2 separate regions of the Homo sapiens genome follow, and region 2 is linked to region 1. The links are contacts of gene promoters, found by promoter capture Hi-C in blood cells and fetal thymus (Javierre and others, 2016). All regions are on one chromosome and are shown on one strand. The core of a region is centred on a gene start or on the middle of the fragment in contact, and the rest is flanking DNA. Distances in the headings are between cores, read along the strand shown. Region 1 holds the start of SLC26A5 (solute carrier family 26 member 5). Region 2 overlaps LHFPL3 (LHFPL tetraspan subfamily member 3).

Evidence for each region. Contacts are between HindIII fragments. The CHiCAGO score rates a contact against its expected background, and 5 or more counts as called.
Region 2: a fragment that was not itself captured here is called in contact with the fragment with the promoter of SLC26A5 in region 1 in 1 of 17 cell types (naive CD8 T cells); the score reaches 5.3 in naive CD8 T cells.

Annotation. Positions count from the first base shown.
Region 1 is chr7:103,444,107-103,448,618 of GRCh38, forward strand. It overlaps SLC26A5 (solute carrier family 26 member 5), which reads right to left and starts at 2,101. Exons shown (of 20, transcript NM_198999.3): 1 at 1,992-2,101. SLC26A5-AS1 (SLC26A5 antisense RNA 1) reads left to right here and starts at 1,101. Exons shown (of 4, transcript NR_110141.1): 1 at 1,101-2,413; 2 at 2,511-2,562. RefSeq lists an enhancer at 1,474-2,050 and a silencer at 2,107-2,176. The HindIII fragment of the contact is 4,246 bases long and covers 638-4,512 here.
Region 2 is chr7:104,898,747-104,903,452 of GRCh38, forward strand. All of the region lies in intron 2 of LHFPL3 (LHFPL tetraspan subfamily member 3), which reads left to right. The region is part of intron 3 of LHFPL3-AS2 (LHFPL3 antisense RNA 2); the gene reads right to left. Among named protein-coding and RNA genes, the nearest start is that of LHFPL3-AS2, 26 kb to the right of the region's middle. The HindIII fragment of the contact is 1,985 bases long and covers 821-2,805 here.

The sequences.
Region 1 (4,512 bases), core at 851-3,350:
AGAAGGATTAAAAGAGTTCATGAAATTGGATCTATCCTCCAACAGAATGGACTTACATAAAATGTACTCTGAGTCACAAAATGATTAAATTTATCCATGCTGTGTCTTTTGTGCAAGATTTCACTAGTTTGAAACCAAAAGAAAGGAAAATCATCATCTTATTTTTCTTAACTTTATTAACTTAATGATAATGAGAACACCTGGGAATACGGACGTGCTTCCTATTTATCATGATTTCCCTAGAAAACTGTTTCACTTGGGTTACTAAAATGCAGACTACCTGCAACGGTAGAAAAATTAAGATACCAGGGGGCAACACATGATATTTAGAATGAGATGAAAACTCAACTGACTTTGATCGTCAATTAAATAGGCAGTGCACACCTGCATCTACACCTCACAAGGCAATCCATTGATTGTTAGAAACTTCCTCAGTCTTCCATTCTTCTGTTCTTAGCAAAGCGCCTCTATGCGAAAAGCACTCAAATACTTGTTGGATTGAGTCAATTCTTTTGGTTTCACTCATAAATTAATGAGGAACGTGTAACTCTGTATAGTTTCAGAGTAGTTAAAGAGAGAAAAAAAGAAATGCTACATAAGAGAATTGGGGCTTCAGGTGTTACCTAATAGACTAGAAAGCTTTCCAAGAGTGCACTTAAGATATGAGCTATAGCAACCTTACCTAGGCAATTCTTCACCCTAAGTTTCTTTCTAATGCAAATTAGTTTGAATTTCTCTCTCTTCCCTCCTGTCCTTTGCCTGAAAGTCTTCTGATACAAAGCAATACTACCGTAATTAGAAGGAATGCCTGACAAAAATACATTTTAAATTTCATTTTCAAAAAGGTTGATACTTCGTATTGCATACTCCGAATTCCCCTGCATTTCTATGCTGTAAATTCCTAAACTTTAGATAATACATTTATATCTAGTGCACATTGTTCAGTTTTCAGATAGGAAAAAGCTAAATCTCAGTCTGTGCCCGCAAAAAGTTGATATTTTTTGTTGTTTTAAGAGTCTCCATGAATGTTGTTTAAATTCTAGAATCCACAGTACTCATCGAAGCTAGGAAAAGAATTTTGCCCACCCCACAGCGTATCTGAGGCTTTCTTCACAGCTAGCTGATCGGATCCTTGCAGCTGTTTCTTCTGTAGGTCTCGGAGCTCACTGAGAACGTCCAGCACGCCTTCCCGGCGGGGCCCGGCCCAGGTGCGCACTAGATGAGGCAGTCAACCAAGTCAATTGGTTCCCGATCAACTAAATCTCTCCTAAAAATAAACACTGCCGCGAGCTTCGAGAGTTCAGCGTGTCAGAGCCTCTATGATGGCAGAGCACCTGCCGCGATGCCTGATTGGTAGGGAGAAGGATTTCCCGGGAGGGGGCCAATACCAAATTTTAGGGCTGTTAGGCTCTGAGCAGTCCCTTCGTGACCGGATAAGTCAGAGACCCGGGGTTTGAGCCTTGCCCGGCGCTGAGCGGAGGGCCCAGTTTCGGGACCACAGCCTTGCTCCCTGGGAGCTCCGGGCGGCCAATGCCGGGCAAGCCCAGCCCGGCACAGGAGGAGGCAGGGCCCGTCTCCGGAAAGAGGGCCAGAGGCAGAACTGAGGGCCTGGTTTTGTGTAATTCGATTTGGATACAAACAGGCCAGACCCAAACTGGAAACGGCGAAGGGCTGGATTAGCACCGAAGGGATTCGAGGAGGCAAACGGGAAGTAAAAATGCTGTGTGGAGCTGCAGAGGGCAAGGGGACAGGGGTTGCAAAGGAAAGAGCTTCGTGAGACTTTCTCCTTCCCGGCGTAGGGACCAGCAGAGTGCGGGCAGGTCAGCCCTGTCACCGGTTCGTTTAGGGAAAAAGCGCGACATGGGGCCTGGGAGACAGGGGCAGAGGCGGTGACAGCGAGGGCCCCTGCTCGGGTGGGCCCGCGGGCCTCAGCTCAGTCCCCTCCCGAGGGACCGCGACCCCCGGCCCCGCGGCCGCCCGCGCGCACTCACCAGCCCGGGCTGCCCTGGGCGGAGCCGCCCCGCCGCGCTCCACAGCCGCTGCCTCTTCGACGCGCGCGCTGCCTCCAGGTGCGGCTCTAGGAGGAGGCGCCGCGGGCAGTGCCGGCCGCGCCCCGCGACTCCCGGTAACCCGAGCCCGCCCCGCCCCGCTAGGGCCAGGCCCCGCCGCCACCCTCCGCGCTGGGACGCCGGGGCGCGGGCATCCCTGCCGCCTACGGATCTCTTCCCAAGCACCTAGAACTTTCCAAAGCGTGCTTGGAATTTAACACCTTGGTCGTCGATCCCCGCAAATATACTCTGATGAGACCGGCTTTCTTCCCATACCGCCCAGGAGTTTCTCCAGGTGGCATTCCTGTCGCCTTGAGGTGGAACATCAGTAGAGGCTCGAGGCTGAAGCAAGCACAATACACAAGGTATAGCGTTCAAGTGGAAAACATTGCGTATTATGATTTTAAAATGAAAAAAAAACACAAAAAACCTGACTTATCTTTTCAATTACAATCATTATAGAGACTCCGATTCGTACAGGAACATTTCGAAAACAGGAAATCCTGAGGACAATGTGAGTATGAGTTTTTTTTTTTTTTTAATTTTCAAAAATCTTTGATGAACTGCCTTTGGTTAACACTTGGTTTGCAAATATTGACTATTGCACGACAAGGCAATGCATGATAAGTTATTTTCTGGGCATTTAAGTTAGAATTTATAAAACAACTTTTGCTTTTTATTAAGTAGAATAATGTAACACGTTACCCCAAGCTGGGAGAATTGCTTGAGTCCAGGAGTTTGAGACCAGCCTGGGCAACAAAGCGAGACTCCGTCTCTTAAAAAAAAAAATTAGATAGGAAATAGCTTGTTTTGCATCTAGCAACTGGGATACAAGAGAGCACCGCAGCCAGAGTGCCGGGCTCCAAGAGGGTGAGGGGTAGAAAATGATTTCAGATACATACTTCCCTCTGGCTTTATGCCTTAGCAAGGATTATAGTTGGTTCATTAAGAGCATCTTTTTTTTTTTTTTTGCTTTGTGCATTTCTGCGCGTGCACACTGTAGTGACACGTGGCGGACTAGCTGTTTGGTCTTAAAGCTGTAAATGCACGCCTGCAGACACCAGAGGCTTCTGCCAAGGAGACCCCACCTCCAGAACCTGGGCCAGGCCTTTGGCTGGGAGCGCTGGTGCTGTTCTTCATCCGAGAGGAAAGGCTAGAGATTCCCTCCCTACTCCACACGAGGGCGATCTCTTCAAGGGCACCAGACCACTCTCCGCGTCCCTAGCTGAGGAAACCAAATTTGCTTTTCTCCACGCTTTTGAACATCTCTAAACAAATCTTAATAGGGTAATTTACTAAGGAGGAGTTGGGCTCCTGGGACGTGCATTTCTGGTGTCCTTCATTTGCCACTTGGCCTTTGCCATCCTATGAAATTATTTTGTCACATACCTGTCTGTAGCCCAGTACTTCTTACACTTTAATGTGCATAGGAATCACCTGCGGATCCCGTTAAAAACGCAGATTCTGATTCAGTAGGTCTGGGGTGGGGTCTGAGATGTGCCTTTCTAACAGGCCCCTGGGTGATCCTGATAGGCTACTGGAGGACCAAACTTTGAGTAGCAACACTGGAGACAGTTGGATGATAAACTGGTTTTGCCGGTAGCACCAGGTACCTAATATACTAACACAATAATGGCAATGTTGCTAACACCTGTTCAGTGTTTACATGTAGTAGGCACTGTTCTGAGTACATGTATTTACTTGTATAGATATTGCTATTATTTCTGGTTTAGAGATGAGTTTGCTTTTAATATGAGTCTTCCCCACCCCCTACCCCCTTCCCATCCTTGCTGGCTTAATTACATTTATTTGGTATTAGAATATTAGGGAGAGTATCAGGAAGAACAGCTAGTGGATGCTAGACCTTAATACCTAGGTGATGGGGTTGACCTGTGCAGCAAACCACCATGACACACGTTTACCTGTGTAATAAATCTGCACATCCTGGACATGTACTCCAGAACTTAAAAGCGGATAAAAGAAAAAATTAAAGAATATTAAAAAGATCTGAAAACGTATACTCAGGGAATTTTCTTCCCTCCTTTGTTCCACACATTCTAGCCAATCCTGTGTGAGTAAACAATGTCATGATTTCTCATCTATTCTTCCTGTGTTTTTGTAAAGCCACAGATATTTGTTTACATGTTCTTGGCTGCCTGCCTGCCTTCCTTCCTTTCCTTCCTTCCTTCCTTTCCTTCCTTCCTTCCTTGCCTTCCTTCTTTTATTATGCTTTAAGTTCTGGGATACACGTGCAGAATGTGCAGGTTTGTTACATAGCTATACAAGTGCCAGGGTGGTTTGCTGCACCCATCAACCCGTCATCTACATTAGGAATTTCTCCTAATGTTATCCCTCCCCTAGCCCCCCACCTCCGACAGGCCCCAGTGTGTGATGTTCCCCTCCCTGTGTCCAGGTGTTCTCATTGTTCAACTCCCACCTATGAGTGAGAACATGAGGTGTTGGG
Region 2 (4,706 bases), core at 563-3,062, 1.5 Mb after region 1:
AAGTTTGAGGCTGCAGCGGGCTGTCATCTTGACACTACACTCCAGCTTCAGTGACAGCATGAGACACTGTGTCTAAAAAAAAATTATTGGCTAGGCATGATGGCTCATGCCTATAATCTCAGCACTTCGGGAGGCTGAGGCAGGCGGATCGCTTGAGCCCAGGAGTTCGAGACCAGCCTTGACAACAAAACTCTGTCTCTACAAAAATTAGCCAGGCATGGTGGTATGCGCCTGTAGTCCCAGCTACTTACGGGGCTGAGGTGGGAAGATCGCTTGAGCCCAGAAAGTCAAGGCTGCAGCGAGCTGTGATTTTGCCACTGCATTCCAGCCTTGGTGACCGAGTGAGACCCCATCTCTAATATATATATATATATACTGTCAATATTTATTGAGCTCTTTCTATGTGCCAGGTTTATACTTTCTGTTATAAACACCTTATAAGCATCATTTCAATCTTCATGACAGGTTGGAAAGGAAGTACCCCAGCCTATTGAATGGGGAAATTGAAGCACAGATATGTAAAACATCTTCTCTAGAGTTACCCAGCTGGTAAGTTGTTGAATTAGGGTTGAAAGCCAGGGAGAATGGCTCCTGAACACACACATTTAACCACTGAACTATATGCCGCCGAGAAAATCAGGAAACATATTATCAAGGAAGGCCAATTGACTTCAAGATGATATTTGGAGAAAGAACACCTGTGGGACAGACCTCGCTGAGAGAGAGAGAGTACCTCTGGCAGGAAGGGAAGTAAGGACAGAATCAAGAAACGGGAAAATGATACGAAGCTGGTAGTCTTTCCCACACAGGAAGGAGAGGAAGCTTAAAGGAACATGTATGAAGCTCAATATTAAATGACAATGAACAGAGATGAATTTATTATTTTGAAAAGCCAACACTTTCAAAGTATTTCAAAGGACAGCACTTTCAGGAAAGTGCATGTCAGTCACTAAAGTAGGGACAGAACATTAAGATCACCCCCTAATTTATTAATTCTTTTTTTTAGATGGAGTCTTACTCTGTCACCCAGGTTGGAGTGCAGTGGCGTGATCTCAACTCACTGCAACCTCTGCCTCCTGGGTTCAAGTGATTATCCTGCCTCAGCCTCCCAAGTAGCTGGGATTACAAGCACCTGCCACCATACCTGGCTAATTTTTGTATTTTTAGTAAAGACAGGGTTTTACCATGTTGGACACGCTGGTTTCGAACTCCTGACCTCAGGTGATTTGCCTGCCTTGGCCTCCCAAAGTGCTGGGATTACAGGCGTGAGCCACCGCCGTGCCTGGCCGCCAATTTATTAGTTCTCATCAAATGCACTAAGAGTCAAGGATGCTACACTGTCACCCTGCCATGGACCTGTCTTCTGGGCTTCAATAGTAAAAGCCTTTCAACCTATGTAAAATATGGAATGGCTTCATGCCAAAACTGGACAGTTAATATTATTAGGATTTATAAATCAGCAGCAACATTCTATTTTCAATGTGCCTGGGTAAGGCCTGCCAAGTAATTGTGCCTGTTTTCTTGCTTTTAATATATTTCACAGTGTTCCTTAAGGGGAATGAGTGGAAGAAGAGAAAGAGACGTTCATGAGTTAATTGAAATCCCTTCTTGTGAAATACTTACTTTCCAAAGAAAAAAACACATGAGAAAGTGTTGTGCCTTGTGTCAAAGTCTCATTGTCCACTGCATACAGAAATAGCACAGAATTATCAAGGCCTGACTCTTAGGCCATTTTCTGCCCCTTCTCACCGAAGATCTGCATAAGTAGCTAGAATAATTTTAGTAATTATCCTCCATCGTCTCCTGTGTTGAAATCGGTATGTCAGATCCAAAGGGAGACAGGAGGAGTCAGCTCTCCTGACTGTGGGGGCTCCAGACCCTAATTAAAAAGGTCAGACAGGAACAATGAGCAGAAACCAACCACAGGAGACATTTCAACATCTGTAAACACGTGGAAAATTCAGCCAAGTAGCATTTAGATAGCCTGGACAATAGGGCCATTATAAATGCTGCACTCATGAGCAGTGATTCAAATGACAGCTTTGAAAAGGATTTGCAAAGAGCCCTTTGGAAATGTAACATGGGCAACTCCGAGCCCATGACATGTTACAAGGACAAATCTGACTGAACAAAGATCCAAAGCAGCATTGAATGACTTATTTATTCATTCCTGCTCTGTACAAACCTGGGAGAATGTGACATATTTTAAATTACCTCCCCTGATAGGCAACATCCATGGTGCATGGGAAATGTTAGCCAAGTTTTTAAAAGAGCAGAATGTTTCACAAGGTGGCAATTACACCACACTGATGCTTCCACCAAATTCTGCAAATTGTCCTCGTGTCTCACGGTCTTAAGACTGAAGGAGTGATGGCCACATCTGGAGAGGAAAATTCTGACTTTTATTTCCTTCCACTTACTCTCTTTACAAATCTGTTTGAAGAGCTAGTCCTTGCCAAGCCTTCAGGTGGAAAACTCTTCATGTGCATACTATCTAAGTAGTTGTAATAACATTCTAATTTTACTCCCCCAACAAAGTGTTTTCCTGATATTCTGTGGGGAGTGGTTGTGTTCTGATCACAGCTGGTTATTATTATTCAGCCTAAGAGTCTGCAGAACTTCTGCATGCCCTGGGGTTTCTGTTGCGTGGTGGTGTCATGCAGTAGGAAGAAAAAATATGCTCTGGTCGCAGTGTCTAAGTAACTCAAATCCAAGCAAACATTCCCAGCACGCCTTCTGATGAGCAGCATGCACTCATGGGCAAGGCTGGGATTAGGGTGAGGCAAGCTAGGTACCTAGGGGGCAAGCTTTTTTGTTTTTTTGTTTGTTTGCTTGTTTTTTGAGACAGTCTTGCTCTGTCATCCAGTCTGGAGTGCAGTGGTGCGTTCATGGCTCACTGCAGCCTCGACCTCCTGGTCTCAAACGATCCTCCCACCTAAACCTCCCACATAGCTGGGACCACTGGTGTGCACCATCACACCTGGCTAATTTTTTTTTATTTTCTGTAGACACAGCATCTCCTTATGTTGCCCAGGCTGGTCTTGAACTCCTGGGTCAAGCAATCCTGCCACCTTAGCCTCCCGAAGTGCTGGGATTACAAGCATGAGCCACCACGACTGGCCCTGCAAGTTTTAAAGAAGCACTCACCTCACACTTGCATGACCCTGCAAGTGAGCTCCTTAAATTTTATACCCTAGACACTCACTTGCCTCACCCTATTCCAGGCCTGGCTCACTGGCTTCACACTTTCATTTTCCCACTTACTTCTCAGCTCCCTGCCCACCACAGATACTGTGGGTCAGAAGTACAGTCCCAGAGTTGACAATACTCAACAAAGAAGAAACCTTTAATGGCCAGGTGCAGTGGCTCATGCCTGTAATCCCAATACTTCAGGAGACCAAGGTGGGAGGATCACTTGAGTCCGGGAGTTTGAAACCAGCCTGGGAAACATAATGAGACCCCATCTCTATAAAAAAAAATTTTAAATTAGCTGGGCATGGTAACGCGTGCCTGTGGTCCTAGTTATGTGGGAGGCTGAGGTGGGAGGATCATTTGAGCCTGGAGGTGGTAGAGGCCACAGTGAGCTATGATTGTGCCGCTGTAGTCAAGAAGCCTGAGTCACAGAGCAAGACCCTGTCTCAAAAAGAAGAGGAGGAAGAGGAGGAGGGAGAGGAGAAGGAGGAGGAGGAGGAGGGGGAGGAGGGAGAAGAAGAAGAGAGCTTTAGGAATGAAGGACTGACTAATCAATAGTGAGATTAGGCCGGGTGCGGTGGCTCACTCCTATAATCCCAGCACTTTGGGAGGCCGAGGTGGGTGGATCACCTGAGCTCAGGAGTTCGAGACCAGCCTGGCCAACATGGTGAAACCCCATCTGTACTAAAAATAAAAAATTAGCTGGGCATGGTGGCGCATACCTGTAATCACAGCTACTCGGGAAGCTTAGGCAGGAGAATCGCTTGAACCAGGGAGGCGGAGGTTACAGTGAGCCGAGATCACGCCACTGCACTCCAGCATGGGCAACAGAGTGAGATTCTGTCTCAAGAAAAACAAAAAGAGTGAAGTTACAGCGAGGGATCTAATGAGGGATTTGGCCATATGAAGGCCACGGGTGACCCAAGACCAGAGCAGATTCAAGAAGGGTTGTTGATGAATGACCTGTTAGGGTCAGGCCCCAGGCTGTGGGCCCAGATGATGAAGGAGAAAGAGAAAGTTTTGTGAAACTGGCCGCAAATGTTCCCGGAACCTTCCTGTAAGAGAGCTGAGGATCTTCCCAGGGAGACATCTGCCCTGCCGGAGGCTTCCTTCTCCCCTCTACCTCCCGCAGGTATGGGTGTCACTACCCTGGGGTCTGATCTAAAGTCCTTCCAACACTCACTGCTCCCTTCCCAGCCCACTGAGAACAGGTCTTACCCTGACTGGGATGCAGCCTTAGATACATGTACTTCCTTCTTGGCAATCTTACTTTTCCTTCATCCTGTGATGTCATAAAGTCAAACCAGGCAGCTTAGCACCAAGGAGAGAGAAACAGGGAGTCTCTGGTTCATGGATGCCAACAAATGATTCACACCAAAGCAGGCTTTTCTATTATGAAATTAGGAGTGTACTTACTTGAGAACCTCAAGAAAATGAGGACTACCCTCCTGACCCCGTTTTCCCCTGCCCCACACACACATAGATGGCCCTCTGTGGTCTCCCTATTCATCCTT